7 separate regions of the Homo sapiens genome follow, and all the other regions are linked to region 7. The links are contacts of gene promoters, found by promoter capture Hi-C in human tissues and cell types (Jung and others, 2019). All regions are on one chromosome and are shown on one strand. Each heading gives the region's core, a stretch centred on a gene start or on the middle of the fragment in contact. The rest is flanking DNA. Distances are from core to core; before and after follow the strand shown.

Region 1 (2,700 bases), core at 180-2,679, 250 kb before region 7:
CCCTAGATGCCCCCAGGCCACACGGGAACAGCCTGGGGGAACCGCAGGAAGAGGCCGCCTGCAGCCTGGGGCCTCCCTGAACTAGCCGCTTTTGGCCACCATCAGGCTAGGGAACTTGGCAAAGGGACATACGTCCAGGCTGTTGGATTCAAAGAAGCAGGCCACGATGGCATCCTTATGTCCCCCCAGTGCATAGTAGATGAGGTTGTCCCAGCGCTCGGCTCCGAACACCCAGGTGGACATGTCTTTGCTCCCAACCACAAAGCACCTGGAAAAGAGGGAGATGGCACCTCCTCAGGGCTTGGCCATAACAAAGCAGCCAGGTGCAAGCTCCAGAGGGCTGCACGGAGACCGCTACAGCCCCACGTGGTCTCAGAGTGAGCTGAGACGCCTCCAGGCACAGGAAGACACCCCGGCACAGCCCCTGCCCTGTCTGCCTTCCTCACACCTCCCAGACGCTGTCCCTGCCCTGTCTGCCTTCCTAACTCCTCCCAGACGCTGCCCGAGCCAACCACAGCATTCCCAGTTTCTGGGACAAACAGGTGAAAGGGCAGTGCAGGGGCAGGAGGCTCGGCCACAGCACACACTTCAGAGCCGCAAAGACTCGACCACAGCCACCCAGCCAGTCCTGATGGTGTGGGCAGCGCCCAGCCCCAAAGGAGGCCGAGATGCCATTGCGGAACGAAGCTGCAGGGCCCAAGGGGGTGACCTGTCCAAGGGGCCTCTCTCAAGCCCCGCTCCCCCGAAGCCTCTGAGGCCGCACCTGGAGTCATCCGTCCAGTCGATGCAGGTGGTCTCATCGTAGGGCCCAAAATAGGTCTTGTCCAGAACGAAGGCGTTGAACTCCCGCTTCTTCCCAGGGGCATGATACATCTGGGCAATGTTACCCTTTGTGACAACAAACTTCCTATGGAAGGAACGCGGACATAGTTGATATTCAAGACCAGCAATGGCCCTAAGGCCACTGTGGAGTCTCAGCCTGCACCCACCTGGGCCTTCTGGAGTCCCGCCTCCTGCAGGATGGAGGCCAAGGAGCAGAGGAAGCAAAAGTCAGGGAAGAAACAGCCCTGGAGGGAGGGCAGCCTGGCCGCACCAAGCCTTCTCCTCCAGAAAAGGGGGTCACCAATGCCAGAGCTTGGGCCGTGTGCCCAACCCAACGTCACAACCCGGGGCCCAGGGAAACGAGCTGGGCAGTGGGCCTCACCGTCGGCATGCACGGCCGAACCCTCCTGCCCCCAAGCTGTCCCCCTTACCTGCCATCAGGGGAGAAGGACACACTGTGCACAGAGCCCTTGAAGTGGAAGTGGTGCAGCACAGACCTGCAGACCAGGCTGACCAGCAGCGCATCGCCCCCTGCAGGACGCCAGAGGTCACCACCGCGCAGCTACCCCAGGGGCCACCCCAGATACATAGCACGGGAAAAACGGAGAAAGGTCTTTCTCGCGTCCACTGTGAGGAGTCAGGACTGAGAATGCCCAAGGGCCATGAGGCCCTGCCCTGCCACAGGTGATGCCACAGACACAGCCTGCGGCGGGGACGCAGCCTCGCCCATGACACCCTCATCCCCAATCCCCACCCGGGCCCCAACACGGAGGCGACTGGGGAGCGGATCATTTCAGACCCACACAGCCCTGAGTCCTCCTCACTGGTCCCCTCAGTACCCGCCCACATCAAGGGCAAGTACCTTCATCGACGATGATAGCGAGGCGGCCATCCGGGGACAGCCCCACGCACTTGACGTTGTACCGAGTGGCCAGGGGCAGCGTGTCAGATTTGTTGCTGATAAAGACAAAAACCACAGTGTGCTGTTGGTCCTCAAGTCACATGAGGGAGACAGGCCAGGCCTGGCCTGGGACCAGCGGCTCACCCTCCCCAAGTAGCGCCTCCAATCTTACTGGACCCCACAAGCCAGAGCTCATCTGTGGATACCCCCCACTCCTGAAAAAGAAATGACATTGTTGGCCGGGCACGGTGGCTCACGCCTATAATCCTAGTGCTTTGGGAGGCCAAGGCGGGCATATCATAAGGTCAGGAGTACGAGACCTGCCTGGTCAACATGGTGAAACCCCGTCTCTACTATAAAAACAAAAAACAAAAAATTGGACAGGCGCGGTGGCTCACACCTGTAATCCCGGCACTTTGAGAGGCCAAGGCGGGCGGATCACGAGGTCAGGAGATTGAGACCATCCTCACTAACACGGTGAAACCCCGTCTTTACTAAAAATACAAAAAATTAGCCGGGTGTGGTGGCGGGCGCCTGTAGTCCCGGCTATTCAGGAGGCTGAGGCAGGAGAATGGCGTAAACCCGGGAGGTGTAGCTTGCAGTGAGCCAAGGTTGCACCACTGCACTCCAGCCTGGGCGACAGGGCAAGACTCTGCCTCAAAACAAACAAACAAACAAAAAAACCCAAAAAATTAGCCAGGCGTGGTGGTGGGCGCCTGTAATACCAGCTACTCAAGAGGCTGACGCAGGAGAATCGCTTGAACCTGGGAGGCAGAGGTTGCAGTGAGCTGGGACCGCACCACTGCACTCCAGCCTAGGTGACAGAGCAAGACTCTGTCTCAAAAAAAAAAAGAAAAAGAAATGACGTTGTCCCTGGAGGAACTCTAGTGAAATGCATTAAAAGCCTTAAAAATGGGCTTTGGATACATCAATTCTGCTTCCAGGATGATATGATGAGAGGATTATTCCGCCTCAGT
Region 2 (2,700 bases), core at 87-2,586, 150 kb after region 7:
CAGAAGAGCACTATAAACGGCTGTTTTCCTTGTATGACCAAAGTCTCAGGGTTAGCGAGTTTGGTGTCAAGCCAGGTAGTGGCGTGGGGTGTGTGATCCGTGGAAGGCATGAGAGAATGCTCTAGTGGGGGGTTAACCGAGCCAGCCCGTCCCTACTCTGTCTCAGGTATGACTGTGTAAATAAATGTCCGTCCACACCCTGGCGGCAAATGAAATGCCCTTGCCAGCAGACCATGCCCAGAGGTTGTTTGAGCAACTGCCTCCCAGCACCACAGGGTTCCTTAATTACCATAAAGGATGTTAAAAGTCATTCAGGATTTGTGTTTGGCCAGAAGTTTGAGCGGTGTCTCTTTTTTTTTTCTTTCTTTCTTTTTTTTTTTTTTTTTGAGACGGAGTTTCGCTCTTGTTGGGCAGAGGCTGGAGTGCAATGGCGTGATCTCGGCTCACCGCAACCCTCGCCTCCCGGGTTCAAGTGATTCTCCTGCCTCAACCTTCTGAGTAGCCGGGATTATAGGCATGTGCCACCACGCCCAGCTAATTTTTTTTTTGTATTTTTGGTAGAGATGGGGTCTCCGTGTTGGTCAGACTGATCTTGAACTCCCGACCTCAGGTGACCCACCTGCCTCGGCCTCTCAAAGTGCTGGGATTATAGGTGTGAGCCACTGTGCCCGACCCTGAGCGGTGTCTTAGTTAGCGGGGGATGCTTTAACAAAATGCACAAAGTAACAAAAGAGCCAAGCCATGAAAGAGAAAGCAACAGGAGAAGCAAGGAAAGCACAGATTTACTGAAGACATTTCAGAGTGGGAGCAGGCTCAAGCAAGCGGCTCAGGTGCCTCTTCTTTTGGGTTTTTGTTTTGTTTTGTTTTTTGAGACCGAGTCTCTGTCGCCCAGGCTGGAGTGCCAGTGGTACGATCTCGGCTCACTGCAAGCTCCGCCTCCCGGGTTCACGCCATTCTCCTGCCTCAGCCTCCCGAGTAGCTGAGACTATAGGCACCCACTGCCACGCCTGGCTAATTTTTTTGTATTTTCAGTAGAGATGGGGTTTCACCGTGTTAGCCAGGATGATCTCGATCTCCTGACCTCGTGATCCGCCCGCCTCGGCCTCCCAAAGTGCTGGGATTACAGGCGTGAGCATGAATTTCTTCTTTACATGTAGCTTCCAGTACCCAGATCACATGATTTTTGATGGAAGTCCAGTGTGATCCGTATTCTTGTTCCTCTATAGGAAGGTACTTTCCCTCCGACATCTTTCAAGATATTCTGTCTCTGGTTTCCTGCAGTTTGAATACGACATGCCAAAGTTCCTATTTTTTGGCATTTGTTGTACTTAGTGTTCTCTAAGCTTCCTAGATCTGTGGTTTGGTGTCTGACACCAATTTTGAAAAATGAGAAGCCATTATTACTTCAAATATTTCTTCTATCCCTTTCTCCCTCTCCTCTTCTGGTATTGCCATTATGAGTGTGTAAATTACCTTCTATAATTGTCCCGTAGTTCTAGGATATTCTGTTCAGTTATTTTTACTCTTTTTTCTCCTTGCATTTCAGTTGGGGAAGTCTATGGACATGTCCTCAGCTTGCAGATTCTCTCCTGGGCTGTGTCCAGTCCACTGACGTCCGAGGCACAATCCCCCGTGTGACCCTGCCTGGCGGCGGCCTCTTGTTAGAGCTGTAAGTCACACAGGCTTCTGCCTGTCCTCTAGCTGAGTGTCACTGTATTGCGTCCCACCACCAAAAGAATCTTTAGATCTTATAAAACATCAATACACAGGCTTCTGCCTCTCCTCTAGCTGAGTGTCACTGTATTGCGTCCCACCACCAAAGGAATCTTTAAATCGTACAAAACATCAATAAAGGATTTGAGTCCTAAATATACAAGGATTTCTTTCTTTCTTTCCTCTCTTTCTTTCTCTCTCTCTTTCTTTCCTTCTCTCTTTTCTTTCTTTCCCTTCCTTCCTTTGTTTTCTCTCCTCTGTTTCTCCCTTTCTCTCTTTCTCTTTCGTCTTGCTGTTGCCCAGGCTGGAGTGCAGTGGCGTGATCTTGGCCCACTGACACCTCCACTTCCCAGGTTCAAGTGATTCTCCTGCCTCGGCCTCCCGAGTAGCTGGGATTACAGGCGCCTGCCACCACACCCGGCTAATTTTTGTATTTTTAGTAGAGATGGGGTTTTATCATGTTGGCCAGGCTGGTCTCGAACTCCTGACCTCAAGTAATCCGCCCGCCTCAGCCTCCCAAAGTGCTGGGATTACAGGCATGAGCCACTGCGCCCAGCCTTTTTTCCTTTTTTTTTTTTTAAATAGGGTCTTGCTCTACCACCCAGGCTGGAGTGCAGTACAGTAGCACACATCAGCTCACTGCAACCTCTGTCCCCTGGGCTAAAGTGATCCTCCCGCCTTAGCCTCCTGAGTAGCGGGTACTACAGGCGTGTGTCACCATGCCGGGCTAATTTTTGTACTCTTTTTTTATTTTGTAGAGAAGAGGTCTCACCATGTCGCCCAAGCTGGTCTCAAACTCCTGAGCTCAAGTGATCTGCCTGCCTCGGCCTCCCAAAGTGCTCAGATTACGGGTGTGAGCCACCACAACTGGCGAAAGAATTCTTAAAACTCAACAATAAGGGAACAACCTAACCAAAAAATAGGCAAAAGATCTAGACACCTCACCAAAGAAGATATACAAATGGCAAATACACATATGGAAAGTTC
Region 3 (2,700 bases), core at 19-2,518, 210 kb before region 7:
ATACTACATTTATTCACCTAAAGCTCACACAAAAGACATTGTTGGGTTTTTGTTTTGAGACAGAGTCTTGCTCCATCGCCCAGGCTGGAGCACAGCGGTGAGATCTCAGCTCACTGCAACCTCCGCCTCATAGGTTGAAGTGATTCTTGTGCCTCAGCTTCCCAAGTAGCTGGGACTACAGGCGCCACCAGGCCCGGCTAATTTTTTGTATCTTTAGCAGAGACAGGATTTCACCATGTTGGCTAGGCTGGTCTCAAACTCCTGACCTCAAGTGATCCACCTGCCTCAGCCTCCCAAAGTGCTGAATTACAGGCGTGAGCCACCATGCCCAGCCCGCAGAAGACATTGCTAATAATGTAACATTATTTTTTCCTTTGCATCTATTTTTGTGAATTTTTCTGTAATATATAAGCAAAATTGGTAACCTGTGTATAAATTATGAAGCATAATAATAAAAGAAACCCACAAACTCATCCAAAACATCTAACTTTTCCAAGGACTTTCTGCACGTGGGTGACATGCTGGGTATTTTTCATACTTGTGTGTATAAGAGGTACAGCCATTACGGGCAGACCAAACGCTCAAGTTGCCCATGACCCGGGAATGACGCTGACCCACCACACTTCTGCCTACGCCGTTTTTTAAAGTTTTGCTAATTTAAGTCTTTCAAAATCAAATACAATAGCTCTGCCCAAGTCCAAATTACTCCTTTTTACAAAGAAAAGTATTCACTAGCCTCTCTTATAATTTCTGTGTGAGCAAACCCAATTTGAACAAAACGGTAAATATTCAAAGATGATTCCATGCCTAGCATGGTACCATGGGCACTAATACACATTTGATGAACTACTCCATGTTTTGTCCACAACTCCCCAGGTACCAAAGAAACTAAAAAAAACCAACAAGAAGGGGCCCCCCACACCAGTTCCTTCCCAACTCAACAGGCCATGTAGCAAAGCCTTCTAGAGACAGGTATTCACAGAACAGACATTGAACACTTGTTAATACTTACTAAGTAGTGTTTTTCAAAAGCTTCCACTGACGATAATGCTTCTTTCAGTTTCTTATAAGGACTCTGAGCTGTGTTGGCTTAAACAGAAAGAAACGAGAGTCCCTCTTCATCTTCATCATGTCCAGTCACATGACTTTACATTCACCTTCACATACTGCAGGTAGATGACCTCATCTGACTCTTGTGAAATTACAAACCGGCCAATGCCAACGGAAACTACATGATTATGTACATTCTCTTTCAATTCACATATTCATAAAATAGTCAAAACGCTTTGTGTCATGCTTTTTCTCTGATCTTTAGAACTAAACTTTTTTAGAAACATATATTACAAATACTCCGATGAATTAAATTACTTCCGAAGTGATCTGAAATGGTCTCAAGTTGAAACAATGAAATATAAATACTACGTATTTTTTCCCTTAAACATTTATTCAATTTACTAAGAATGTTTTCAGCTCATCAGATATTCTTTAGCAACAGTCTTGCTAAATAATACTCATCATATATTCCTACGTAAAACAATGAGTAATCCTCCTTTCAAAGAGCCTTATTATCCAGGAGAATTTTTTTTTTTTTTTGACAGAGTTTTGCTCTTGTTGCCCAGGCTGGAGTGCAATGGAGCAATCTTTGTTCACCACAACCTCCACCTCCCAGGTTCAAGCGATTCTCCTGCCTCAGCCTCCCGAATAGCTGGGATTACAGGCATGCACCACCACACCCGGCTAATTTTGTATTTTTAGTAGAGATGGGGTTTCTCCATGTTGGTCAGGCTGGTCTCGAATTCCTGACCTCAGGTGATCCGCCCACCTCGGCCTCCCAAAGTGCTGGGATTACAGGTGGGAGCCACCGTGCCCAGCCAATTTATTTTAAAAAATTTGCTGGGAGGCCAGGGCAGGAGGATCACTTTAGGCCAGGAGTTTGAGACCAGCCTGGGCAATACAGCGAGACTCCATCTCTACAAAAAATTAAAAAATTAGCCAAGTATGGTAGCACACACCTGTAGTCCCAGCTACCTGGGAGGGTGAGGCAAGAGGATCCCTTGAGCCCAGGAGGTCGAGGCTGCAGTGAGCCAAGATTGTGCCACTACACTCCAGTCTGGGCAACAGAGTGAGACCCTGTCTCTTAAAAAAAAAAAAAATCGTCAGGTCGTATTGTTAGAAAAACAGATCATCTGTAATTCAGAGAGACAGTGGTGCATTTGAACATGAGCTATAAAGTCCCTTAAGCCCAGGAGAAACTCAGCTACATTTCTGAAACTCCTTCCAATTTCTTCAACTATTTCTAATATTGCATTATGCTGTTAAAAGGTAAACTATCATGTGCTTTAATCCAGTCAGCTAACAATGGGTATAATTTTCCAAATGGTGAGTAATATGATTACTCTTAGAACTTCGGTTAAATGTGCCAACTTGCAAAGGACATTTTCATTACTGTCCACCTCACCACTCACACAGGTATATACAAAAAAGTACCTGTTTCTGGTCGCTCAGCTCCCAAACCTGCCAAAAGGTCAACTGTCCTGTTGAGATCTTCTGAGTTAGGTCCTTTCTCTGACACAAGTCCACATAGATAGCCCAAGGACTTTAACTGTTAAGATAAATCCACAATTTCAATTAATTTGCCGTAAGAGTCAGCAGGGAATTCAAGAATTTAAATATAAAAATTCAAATCCAGCTAAATTCTAG
Region 4 (2,700 bases), core at 167-2,666, 180 kb before region 7:
GGCCCAGGTGGGCAGATCACCTGCGGTCAGGAGTTCAAGAATGGCCTGGCCAACATGGCAGAAACCCCATCTCTACTAAAAATATAAAAAATTAGCCAGGCGTGGTGGCAGACGCCTGTAATCTCAGCTACTTCAGAGGCTGAGGCAGGAGTATCGATTGAACCTGGGAGGCGGAGGTTGCAGTGAGCTGAGATCACCCCACTGCACTCCAGCCTGGACAAGAGCGAAACTCTGTCTCAAAAAAAAAAAAAAAAAAAAAAAGACATGATTTTCTATTTTAATCTCTCCAAGGCATAACAGACTGTTTAAGGCAAAAAATAGTAACAATGTACTATGGGGTTTTAACAAGTATAGAAAATGTATGACAACAATAACAAAGGCTGGGAGGGAGAAAACAGAAGTCAATGATCCAAAGTTCTTATATCACGCATCAAGTAATATAATTCATATTACTTGAAGGAAGAATTATGCTGTTACAGATGTACTCTATAAGTCCTAAAGCAACTATTCAACATAACAGAGTTTTACTTTAAATCTAAAATCCTCAATATTATCAACTTACTCCTTTTTTTAAATAGACGATAATCAAGATTTGAAAAAAAAAAGGCTATTAGAATGTAATTTTAAGGAAAAAAGTCTCATTCAAAATGGCCACAAAAGCTAAAGCTAACAATAAAAATGTAAAACTTTTACGAAAAATAAGGGCAGAAAAAAGTCATAAAGAATGGAAAAACATACATACCACATTCCCTGATTCAAGAAGACTCATGATTAAAATTCTTCTCAAATGAATTAACAACTTATTCAAGGCAATCCCAATCAAAATGCCTCCAGCCTTCTCTTTTTCAACTGATATTCCAGTTATCTACTGCTGTGTAACAGGCCACTCCAAGCTATAGTGGTGTAAAACTTTCTTTTGCTCACGGATCTACAACTGAGAGAGGATTTGGTGGGAACCAAGGTCTCTGCTCCACCTGGTGTCAGTGGCGTGTTGAGGCTGGGAGCTAAAACACACAGTGGGACTCAGCTGGGGCAGGCTGAACACCTGCGAGTGGCCTTCCCACGGGGCTGCTTGGCTTCCCCACAGCATGGTGGCTGGAATCTAAGAACAAGCACCCCGAGAGAATCCAGCAGAAGGCACGTTATCTTTTAGGACTTCCTCTCAAGTATCACAGTGTTGCTTCTGCCACAGTCAGAGGCCCACCCAGATTCAACTGGAGGAAACACAGGCCCAGCCTTTCAACAAGGGAAAGTCACTGTCACATAGAGAGGAGCATGTGGGATGGGTATGCTGCTACAGCCATCTTCAGAAAATAAATTTGGACACTCGACATGTGGAAGGGAAAATGTAGATGGCCACAAGGTTTATTTTAAAAGAAAGATATTGATACATATTATAAAAGTGTAATAGGCCAGGCACGGTGGCTCACGCTTGCAATCCCAGCACTTTGGGATGCCGAGGCGGGTGGATCACGAGGTCAGGAGTTTGAGACCAGCCTGGCCAATATGGTGAAACCCCGTCTCCACTAATAATACAAAAATTAGCCAGGGGTGGTGGTGGGCGCCTGTAGTCCCAGCTACTCAGGAGACTGGGACAGAAGAATCGCTTGAACCCGGGAGGTAAAGGTTGCAGTGAGCCAAGATCAAGCCACTGCACTCCAGCCTGGGCAACAGGGTAAGACTCCATCCCAAAAAAAAAAAAAAAAAAAAAAGCGTAATAATTAAAAGTCTGATTCTGGCACAGGATAGACAATGATCAATAGAACCAAAGTGTCTAGAATATTGTGCATACAGGATGTTGGTTTAAAATACAGGTGACATTCCCAGTAAGTGGAGAAAAGACACACTATTATGAAATGGTGTTAGGCCAATTTGCTATGCATTCAGACAGTAAAATTAGACCCTCAACTCCCAGAGCTCCTAATATATATAAATAATTTGAAGCTATACGGGTCCCAATATAAGACATAAATTACAAAATTATTAAAATAAAATACAGAAAATCAGTTCTCTTCAGACAGACAAGGCCTCCCTAAGCAAGATACACTGCCCAGAAGCCATTCTGTAAATGACATATTTCACTCCATAAAAACTGTAAGTTGTAAACACCTAAGCACCAAATAATACATCAACCACCTATACAAAACAGAAACTACAGGAGATGCAAGAGAAACAGAAACACACCACTAACAGAAGACTTTACCATACCACTGTCAGTTAAAGATAGGTCAAATGGACAAAATTCAAAATATAAATGACCTAAACAACACAAGCAGTAAGATAGGTCTTGTGGATATTTAACATTACAATCTGGAAACAGAAAATACATTCTCAAACACACATGAAATGTCCAAAAAAACTGATCATTTATTAGGTCACACAACAGTCAAATTCATAAAATTTTAAAAATAAGTTTCATAAAGCAAAAATATAAACACTTTCTGAACACAATGCAATAAAGCTAGAAATTTCTAAACAAAATTTTTTTAATCTTTTTTTTTCTGTAAGCTAAAAAGCTTTCTGTTAAACAACTATTTAATGAAAGGGTGAAATACAAATCAAAAATAGAGAATTTCTGAAAAATAATGATAAAACAATGGGATATATTTAAAGTAGTAACCAGAGAAAAATTCCTAACTTTAAAGACCTATATCAATAAAAATTTAAGAATGAAAATAAATGCATTTCAAACGCCCGAAA
Region 5 (2,700 bases), core at 201-2,700, 160 kb before region 7:
GGTCAAAAGAAAACCCATACATTAGTGTTCATCAAGTTTCCTACTGTGGAAATTTGCAGAAAAGGAACTACTACACGTAAAGACTAGTCAAAAGACAGAAAGTCCCAGTCTTTTTCTGTTTTAACTTAAAAGACAAGAACACACAGGCCAAGAATGTTAAGAAGTTGAATGAACTCTTCTAATCAAGGAAACAAGTTGCCTTCTCTAGCCCTCAGAGAGCAAACTTAAAATTCAAGAGTTTAAAAACAAAAAGACTGGATAAATGCATCTGAATATAAGAATACTGAGGAATCAGCCTTTAACAGTGTATACATTTTTTAAATAAACACAGCATTACTGTAGCAGTTTGAACCACAGTACTGTATTTACAAGTTAAAAAGAGACACTCCTGTTCCTGGCACCCCAATGCCTTAAGGCTTTAGACAGAAGGGTTCCCAAACTGGTCTTTCCCCAGACTTCCCCTTTGCCACTGGCTTTGTTCAAGGGCTGGCTTCTCAGCGAGGCCTACAGGCAGTTTCCCAATGGTGCAAGCACTCAGGAGGGAGCTGAGGCAGCATCAGCACAGTGACATAACCATTTGCCTCAGCCCAGCAACCCGCCCTGCAGGGCTCCATCCCAACAGGCCCGTCGGAAAGGCCACAGACAGGCTATCTGTGCACAACTACTGGAAACAGTAAAACACAAAACAACTCAAATTCCACCAGGAGGGGACTGGCAGAATAAACCACGGAATATCGACATCATGGAATGAGAATGATCTCAACATACTCCTAGCGTGGAGTGGAGTCCGGGGGAAAGTGAGGTGGGACAGTGTGTGCAGCTGGCAATGTCTAAGCTAAGAAAGGGAAATACAAATATGTTTGGATGTTTTTCACGTGGAAGGAAAACCATAAAAACTGTGATGGAGTACTCAGGAAGGGAGGAGTTAGCATGGAGAGGACAGAACATACACAAGGCTTCTTTAAATAGACCTCATTTTGTAGATTTAATTTTGGAAGTAAATATTTTATATAGTTATAAAGCAATTAGATTTTTTCAAGGTTTTCCCTAAAAATAATCAGGAAAAATAAAACAAGTGAACTTAAATGTATACATATACATTTAGTGGTATAATCTCAGAGAGAGGAGCTATGACAAGTAACTTTAAAACTACAGTAATTTGACTGTTCATTCCTTATGGGATACATCCAAATGCCAATAAGAACTGTCAAAAACAGTTCTAGACCTGTGTTCACTAGTCCTGTTGTTGATGGTGGAGTTAATAGTGTTATTCAGAGTCTATGTAATGAGGGATAAAGCAACTGAAAGCAAGTGAGCAATCGTGTGATGTTCTATTCAGTGGCCCCTGGCCCTTCAGCATCAGCACCACCTGGGCATTTGTTAGAAATGCTCATTCTCAGGCCCCACCCAGACCTGTTCAATCAGAAATGGGGAATGGACCCAGCCATCTGTGTGTCCACAAGCCCTCCAGGTGACTGAAGCAGCATGAGCTGGGGAACCTCTAACTCTAGCCTCCTCAAGTACCCATGAGAATTAGGATTTTCAGTGTGGAAAAGAGAAAACACAGAGGATGGAGCTGTTAATTAAAACCCTGCAGCCCTGAGTTTTCATCAAAAAGAGTGAACTTATGATGTATTTTATCTTAAAAATACAAAAAACAAAGAACAATTCCTAGGCTGGTGCGGTGGCTCACGCCTGTAATCCCAATGCTTTGGGAGGCCAAGGTGGGTGGATCACCTGAGGTCGGGAATTTGAGACCAGCTTGGCCAACACGGTGAAACCCTGTCTCTACTAAAAATATAAAAATTAGCCAGATGTGATGGCATGCACCTGTAATCCCAGCTACTCACTACTCGGGAGGCTGAGGCACAAGAATCTCTTGAACCTGAGAGGCAGAGGTTGCAGTGGGCTGAGATCGTGCCATTGCACTACAGCATGGGCAACAGAGTAAGAGCCTGTCTCAAAACAAAACAAAACAAAAACAAAAAACAAACAAACAAAAATGCCTAGCTATTCCTAGCTCTGCCTATTGAAAAGGCCTCACAGCAACTAGGAGCCCAAGCTTGCAGACTATGGTCTTGAAATACTATTTTTCACTAAAAGGAATCAGGGCTCCTTGGCAATTGCTAAGTGCAGATCAGGGCATTAAATGTTCAAAATGAGCCCGGAACATCTTGTCAGGCTAGATAGGAAAGAATCTGACAAAGATGCCTCTATCTTAGACCCCAACATGAAAGAGACTCTCCCTGGCCAAAGGGAGAACAACCTGCTCACCAACGAGGCAACAATGCAATGGACTGTAACACATCAAGTATGTTCATAATGATTAAGTTCACAGCCATACTAAACGAACAACAAAAACACGCCAACCGATCACCTCTGAAAGATGCCAGTGAACCAACTCACTTTGAAAATGGTTACATAGGCCGGGCGCGGTGGCTCACATCTGTAATCCCAGCACTTTGGGAGGCTGAGGCGGGAGGATCACGACGAGGTCAGGAGATCGAGACCATCCTGGCTAACACGGTGAAACCCCATCTCTACTAAAAATACAAAAAATTAGCCCGGCGTGGTGGCGGGCACCTGTAGTCCCAGCTACTCGGGAGGCTGAGGCAGGGGAATGGCGTGAACCCGGGAGGTGGAACTTGCAGTGAGCCAAGATGGAGCCACTGCACTCCAGCATGGGCGACAGAGCAAGAC
Region 6 (2,700 bases), core at 75-2,574, 190 kb before region 7:
CAGCACTTTGGGAGGCTGAGGTGGGCAGATCACGAGGAGATCGAGACCATCCTGGCTAACACGGTGAAACCCCGTCTCTACTAAAAATACAAAAAAAAATTAGCCGGGCTTGGTGGCGGGCACCTGTAGTCGCAGCTACTCAGGAGGCTGAGGCAGGAGAATGGCGTGAACCCGGGAGGCGGAGGTTGCAGTGAGCCGAGATGGCGCCACTGCACTCCAGCCTGGGCTACAGAGCAAGACTCCGTCTCAAAAAATAAAATAAAATTAAATTAAATTAAAATTAAAATAAATAAATAAATTAGCTGGGCGTGGTGGTGCGCACCTGTAGTCCCAGCTATTTGGGAGGCTGAGGCAAGAGAATCGCTTGAAATCAGGAGGAGAAGGTTGCAGTGAGCCAAGATCACACCACTGCACTCCAGCCTGGCAACAAAGCAAGACTCCGTCTCAAAAAAAAAGTGTGTGTGTGTGTGTGTGTGTGTGTGTGTGTATGTATGTATGTATAGGCTGGGCATGGTGGCTCACAACTATAATCCCAGCACTTTGGGAAGCCGAGGCAAGAGGATCACTTGGGGCCAGGAGTTCGAGACCAGCCTGGCCAACATGGTGAAACCCCGTTTCTACTAAAAATATAGAAATTAGCCAGGTATGGTGGCATGCACCTGTAATCCCAGCTACTCAGGAGGCTTAGGCACGAAAATCGCTTGAACCCTGGAGGCAGAGGTTGCAGTGGGCCAAGATCACACCACTGCCCTCCAGCCTGGGGGACAGAGTGAGACACTGTCTCAAAAATAAATAAATAGATATGTTTGTATAATATGGACACATAAGGCCGGGCATGGTGGCTCACACCTGCAATCCCAGCACTTTGGGAGGCTGAGGCGGATCACGAGGTCAGGAGATCGAGACCATCCTGGCTAACATGGTGAAAACCCGTCTCTACTAAAAATACAAAACATTAGCCAGGCGTGGTGGCAGGCGCCTGTAGTCCCAGTCCCACTGCTGAGGCAGGAGAATGGCATGAATGGCATGAACCCGGGAGGCAAAGCTTGCAGTGAGCCGAGATTGTGCCACTGCACTCCAGCCTGGGCAACAGTGCAAGACTCCATTTCAAAAAAAAAAAAAAAAAAGACACATAAAATATAAGAAATAGAAGTGTTTTTTTATTTTATTTTTTTACTTAGTAAACACTTTGCTTTGGTTCTGTGTCTATACTGGCATCTCAGGAGAGTGAGATATCCAGACCTGATCTTCAGAAGCACTATGAGCCAGTATCCATCGGCGCCACTGATGAGTTCCAGAGTGAGGACAGTGCTCACAGCTAGAACTGACCGTCCCCACACTTCATCTCCCTCCAGGTTCTCCTGCTGACACCAGGGCTCCTCAAAATTACTCCTTCCTTCACACATGGTGACAAGGGTTCTCAAAAAGAACACCTGGCAGAGATGCCCACTACAGCACTGCTTGTGGTGGCAAGAAGCATAAAAGAACCCAATGTCCAACACCAGGTAATGGAATCAAGCCAGGAATACCAATTGTAACAAAAACAACTCCAAACCCCACCTGCTAACCTGGAGAGATGCCCAGGATGGGCTGTGAGTAACAAAAAGGAGCGACAGAGAAACAGCTATATAACGTGGTATCACTTTCATCAAAATAAGTATCAGCGAAAAACACTGAGGACAATAACCAATGTTTCTCTCTGTGTATGGTTTCACTGTGCTAATTCTTTAATTGTAAAGGAGCTTAAGATATTATTTAAAAGTGCAAAAGAAAGATGAACACCCAAGGGCATTTTATAAGTTCACAGCAATGAGCACTCGAGCATTCCAAAGATAACCCCTGGATGGAAGGCAAAGGGACGTCCACTCTGATTCTAACGAGGGACAGAATCGAAGCATCACCAGCAGGCCACTGAGTTGTGGAAAGGACATTTTATACCTGGAAAACAGTTTTTTTAAATTATTATTATTTTTGTTACTTAAGATTCTTCTAAAAGTGAAAATGACTAATTCTTAATTCTCATTTCATTTCCTCTAGGAATCACGAGAATATATCCGATATAATGTGTATAAAGACAACAACAAAACATGCGTACTCCTGAGGTAAATAAATGGCTGCTTCAAGCCTATCTGAAGTTGGAGAAAGCCACACTAAGAAAAGCATGCGTTACTGAAGTGCCACTACTCACCCCCGGCCCCGAAGTTGACCACATACTGAGAGAAGAGGGCGTCCAGTTCGTCGTACTGCACCAGGGCGTCCTCGAACTGCTGCAGCATCTCGAAAACAAAGGCAAGCTCCTCCTATTCGCCCAAGATACGTTTTTTAAAAAAACAAAAACATAAATCAATGTATAGAAGAAACAGTATGTAGCCATTAAACGACAGAGAAAGGCACGCAGCACTATGAATAATGTCTACGCTCCGCTAAGTAACAACCAATGTGACGACCGCATATGTCAACATTCACGCATGCACAAGAAGCTAGGAAAAGCTAAGGTAATTTCTGAACCCTCCCCGACCTATCGGCAGCACCAGATATAACTGGTCACCCCCCTGTCCTTGGGATGTTTCCTGCTGTCCAGGACCTGGCCACCTGCTCCCCTCGCCCCTCACTGTGGCTCCCTCTGGTCAGACGGCTGGTTCCTCTCGCTCCCCGAGGCTCTCTGCTGGAGGCCGCAGGGCTCCGCCCTTGGACTTCCCT
Region 7 (2,700 bases), core at 123-2,622:
GTTGGAAAGAGGGAGGGGGGGCGGCAAAGAAGTGGCCAAATCAAGAGAGTGCTCAGCATCCTCGGGAGACCCCTCTGAAGCTTTCAAACTGAGAAGACGAAGTTCAGCAATTCCTAAGCGAGTCGAGTCGGAGCAGCCGCGCCTGCAATTTAAAAGCTGCAGGATCCTGGGTCCCTCTAGCAGCCTGGGCCCGCCGCCCGCCCCACCTCCCAGCCCCCAGCAGGCTCTCGGCGTTGGCTTTCATTTTTAATAAGAGCCGCATGCTCATCACCCTCTGTCTGGAGGCCAACAGCCCACATCTTTCTTCTACTAAGATCATGTTTCCCAGGAAAAAGAACCCAACTGCTCAAGTATTCTCCTAGACAAAGCTTTTAAAATTGTGCTTTTTTTTTTTTAAAGGTCTGGGAAGCCATTTATAAAAGCATTTTCCCCATGTCACTAAACTTCTCTCAAAGTTAAAAAAAAAAAAAAAAACACTGCACCATTTTTAACTGCCTTCAAATACTAATAACCCTCCTTTCCTAAGTACTTGGGACCAATGTTCCAAGGGTCCTGGGGTGGCCAGGAGTGGGTTTTCGCCCCCACGGCTCTTGCCCCCGGACTGACCCCATCCCCTGACCCGCCCGGTGCAAACGCGCCGCCGGTCTCCGGGCCGAACCCACAGCCAACCCCGGGCCCCGCAGCCCTCCCCGCGCGGAGCGGCAAAAGTGAAACTGCTCCCTTGGCCTGGGCGCGCGAGGAGGAGGCCCCTGGGGGGGGTCCCGGGTCCGCCGCGCCCCGAAACCAGGCGGCGGGCGCGTCCTGTCCACGGGGGAGCCGAGCGGGGCCCGGAGCAGAGTCCAGGACGGAGGGATGGGACGTCCCCGCGGGAACCCACTCGCCCTCCCTCGGCCCGGCCCGGGCCCCTCCCGGGCGCCCCGAACCCCCGGGCCTCCCCGCTGGGCCCAGCGCCACCGAGGCTGCTGCGGGAAGCGGCCGGGGCCTCGCGCTGGACCAGGCCGCCGGGGAGGCCGGGGTTGCGGGGGGCGCACAGGACCCGGGCCCAGACCTCCTCCCGGCCCCGCGCCTTCCCAGGCCCCGCGCCCCGCGGAGCGCGGCCGGCCCATTGCGGCGCGGGGCCCCGGGCGGCCCGAGGTCGGACGGCTGGGGCAGGGGCGACCTCCGGCGGCGGGAGGGCGACCTCGGGCGGCGGCGGGGCGTGGGGGAAGAGGGGGGCGGCCCGACCTCGGGTGGGGGCCTCGGTGCTCACCTGCAGCCGCCGCCACCTGCTCGTCGCGCGGGCGTCCCCGGCGTCGCCTCCGCGGCCCCGCTCTGGCCGCCGCGCTCCTCGGCCCTGGGCCCGGCCCGGCCCTGCGTCGGGGCCTCAGCGAGTGCGGCGCCCGCCGCCCCCGGCCCCCATCCCGCCGCCCTCCGCCCTCCGCCCTCGGCCGCGCCGCCGCCGCCACTTCCTGTGCGCGGCGATCCCACAGTTCCGCCGGCGCGCGCGGGGCGGCCGAGGGACACGCTGGGGGGACACGGGGGAAGGACGCGGGGGGGGACGCGGGGGGACGGCGCGGGGGGGGACGCGGAGGGGACACGGGGGCGACACGGCGGGACACGCGCGCGGAGAGAGGTGTGGGCCGAGGGCGCCGGCGGGGCCGGGCGCGGAGCCTGCGTGGGATCCGCTAACGGACGGGGCTGGGGCCCGGGCTGGGGGAGGGGGCGGGCCGGGACCGCGGGGGGCGCGGGGATCAGGGGGGTCGGGGCTGAACGGGGGGAGGCGGCGAAGGACCAGGCTGGGGTCCCGCGAGGGCTCCCCCGGACCGGGTCGGGGGCAGAGGGGGCCGGGGCGCGGGGTGGGGCCGGGAGGGGCCTCCGAGCTCTGCCTGGGCCCCGCCATCTCCCCTGCCGGGGTCTCCTGCGGGCGCCGGGGAAGTTTCGCGCGCGAGCTCCTGCCCTGGTCGGCCGGGGCTTAGGGTCGCCGTCAGGGGTCGCCGCGCGGCGGGCTCGGTGGGGACGGCCCTGCGCGCAGCGGCTCCGCGGAAGGATCGCGTTTCGGCCCACGTGCCGCGCCCTTGGACTTATTCATAGTTGGCACCCGGCTGGCAACACTGTATCGACACTTGACCGTGGCGGGGGTGGGGGTCGCCCCGGGGCTGCCCTGCGAACCCCCGCGGGCGCTGACGCCGTCCCCTCCAGACCGCGGAGCCCTCTCAGCCCCAGGACAGCGGCTGCCGTCCCCCCTCCCTTGCACCTGGCCAGCGGCCGATCCCAGAACCTGCGGAGGCCGCGCAGGTGCCGCTGTCAGGGCAGGGCCCGCTGCGGGCTCCGCCTCCTGCGCCCGGTACCTTGTGTGACCTGGCGCCTGCTCAGGTCCTCAGGCCCCGGCTGGACTTGCTGAGCTTGGGTGGGCTTCATTTGAAAACCATTTAAAATACCAAGTACTGGTACTGTCTACTGTGCCCCTTTTTTTCCTTTTTTTTTTTTTTATTTTTATTATTATTGAGACAGGGTCTTGCTCTGTCGCCCACCCTGGAGTGCAGTGGTACAATCATAGCTCGCTGAAGCCTTGAACTCCAGGGCTCAAGTGATCCTCCCACCTCAGCCTCCCAAGTAGCTGGGACCACAGGCACACACCACCATGTCTGGCTAATTTAAAAAAAATTTTTTTTGTAGAAATGGGGCCTCACGGTGTTGCCCAGGCTGATCTCGAACTCCTGA

The links. The method cuts DNA at HindIII sites, captures the fragments that hold promoters and counts their contacts. A contact is called where the count stands out against the background at its distance.
Region 1: a contact is called between a fragment that was not itself captured here and the fragment with the promoter of AGPAT3 in region 7, in 6 of the 25 tissues and cell types used here (IMR-90 fibroblasts, dorsolateral prefrontal cortex, hippocampus and 3 more).
Region 2: a fragment that was not itself captured here is called in contact with the fragment with the promoter of AGPAT3 in region 7 in 2 of the 25 tissues and cell types used here (dorsolateral prefrontal cortex and spleen).
Region 3: a fragment that was not itself captured here is called in contact with the fragment with the promoter of AGPAT3 in region 7 in 1 of the 25 tissues and cell types used here (dorsolateral prefrontal cortex).
Region 4: a fragment that was not itself captured here is called in contact with the fragment with the promoter of AGPAT3 in region 7 in 1 of the 25 tissues and cell types used here (dorsolateral prefrontal cortex).
Region 5: a fragment that was not itself captured here is called in contact with the fragment with the promoter of AGPAT3 in region 7 in 1 of the 25 tissues and cell types used here (lymphoblastoid cells).
Region 6: a contact is called between a fragment that was not itself captured here and the fragment with the promoter of AGPAT3 in region 7, in 1 of the 25 tissues and cell types used here (dorsolateral prefrontal cortex).

The regions. Positions count from the first base shown.
Region 1 is chr21:44,112,832-44,115,531 of GRCh38, reverse strand. PWP2 (PWP2 small subunit processome component) reads right to left here. Exons shown (of 21, transcript NM_005049.3): 3 at 1,685-1,779; 4 at 1,254-1,353; 5 at 764-907; 6 at 133-268. Among named protein-coding and RNA genes, the nearest start is that of PWP2, 6.8 kb to the right of the region's middle. RefSeq lists an enhancer at 1,250-1,544. The HindIII fragment of the contact is 8,457 bases long and covers 1-2,700 here.
Region 2 is chr21:43,709,885-43,712,584 of GRCh38, reverse strand. LOC124905031 (a long non-coding RNA gene) reads left to right here and starts at 310. Exons shown (of 2, transcript XR_007067895.1): 1 at 310-1,230; 2 at 1,547-1,869. RefSeq lists enhancers at 1-497, 563-1,444. The HindIII fragment of the contact is 7,963 bases long and covers 1-2,700 here.
Region 3 is chr21:44,074,941-44,077,640 of GRCh38, reverse strand. It overlaps TRAPPC10 (trafficking protein particle complex subunit 10), which reads right to left. Exons shown (of 23, transcript NM_003274.5): 9 at 2,488-2,602; 10 at 1,013-1,089. Among named protein-coding and RNA genes, the nearest start is that of PWP2, 31 kb to the left of the region's middle. The HindIII fragment of the contact is 7,831 bases long and covers 1-2,700 here.
Region 4 is chr21:44,042,222-44,044,921 of GRCh38, reverse strand. All of the region lies in intron 3 of TRAPPC10 (trafficking protein particle complex subunit 10), which reads right to left. Among named protein-coding and RNA genes, the nearest start is that of TRAPPC10, 31 kb to the right of the region's middle. The HindIII fragment of the contact is 7,203 bases long and covers 1-2,700 here.
Region 5 is chr21:44,023,059-44,025,758 of GRCh38, reverse strand. All of the region lies in intron 1 of TRAPPC10 (trafficking protein particle complex subunit 10), which reads right to left. Among named protein-coding and RNA genes, the nearest start is that of TRAPPC10, 12 kb to the right of the region's middle. The HindIII fragment of the contact is 6,881 bases long and covers 1-2,700 here.
Region 6 is chr21:44,058,703-44,061,402 of GRCh38, reverse strand. It overlaps TRAPPC10 (trafficking protein particle complex subunit 10), which reads right to left. Exons shown (of 23, transcript NM_003274.5): 6 at 2,189-2,300. Among named protein-coding and RNA genes, the nearest start is that of PWP2, 47 kb to the left of the region's middle. The HindIII fragment of the contact is 7,991 bases long and covers 1-2,700 here.
Region 7 is chr21:43,863,895-43,866,594 of GRCh38, reverse strand. AGPAT3 (1-acylglycerol-3-phosphate O-acyltransferase 3) reads right to left here and starts at 1,372. Exons shown (of 10, transcript NM_020132.5): 1 at 1,250-1,372. RefSeq lists silencers at 614-933, 1,054-1,403, 1,954-2,313. The HindIII fragment of the contact is 11,781 bases long and covers 1-2,700 here.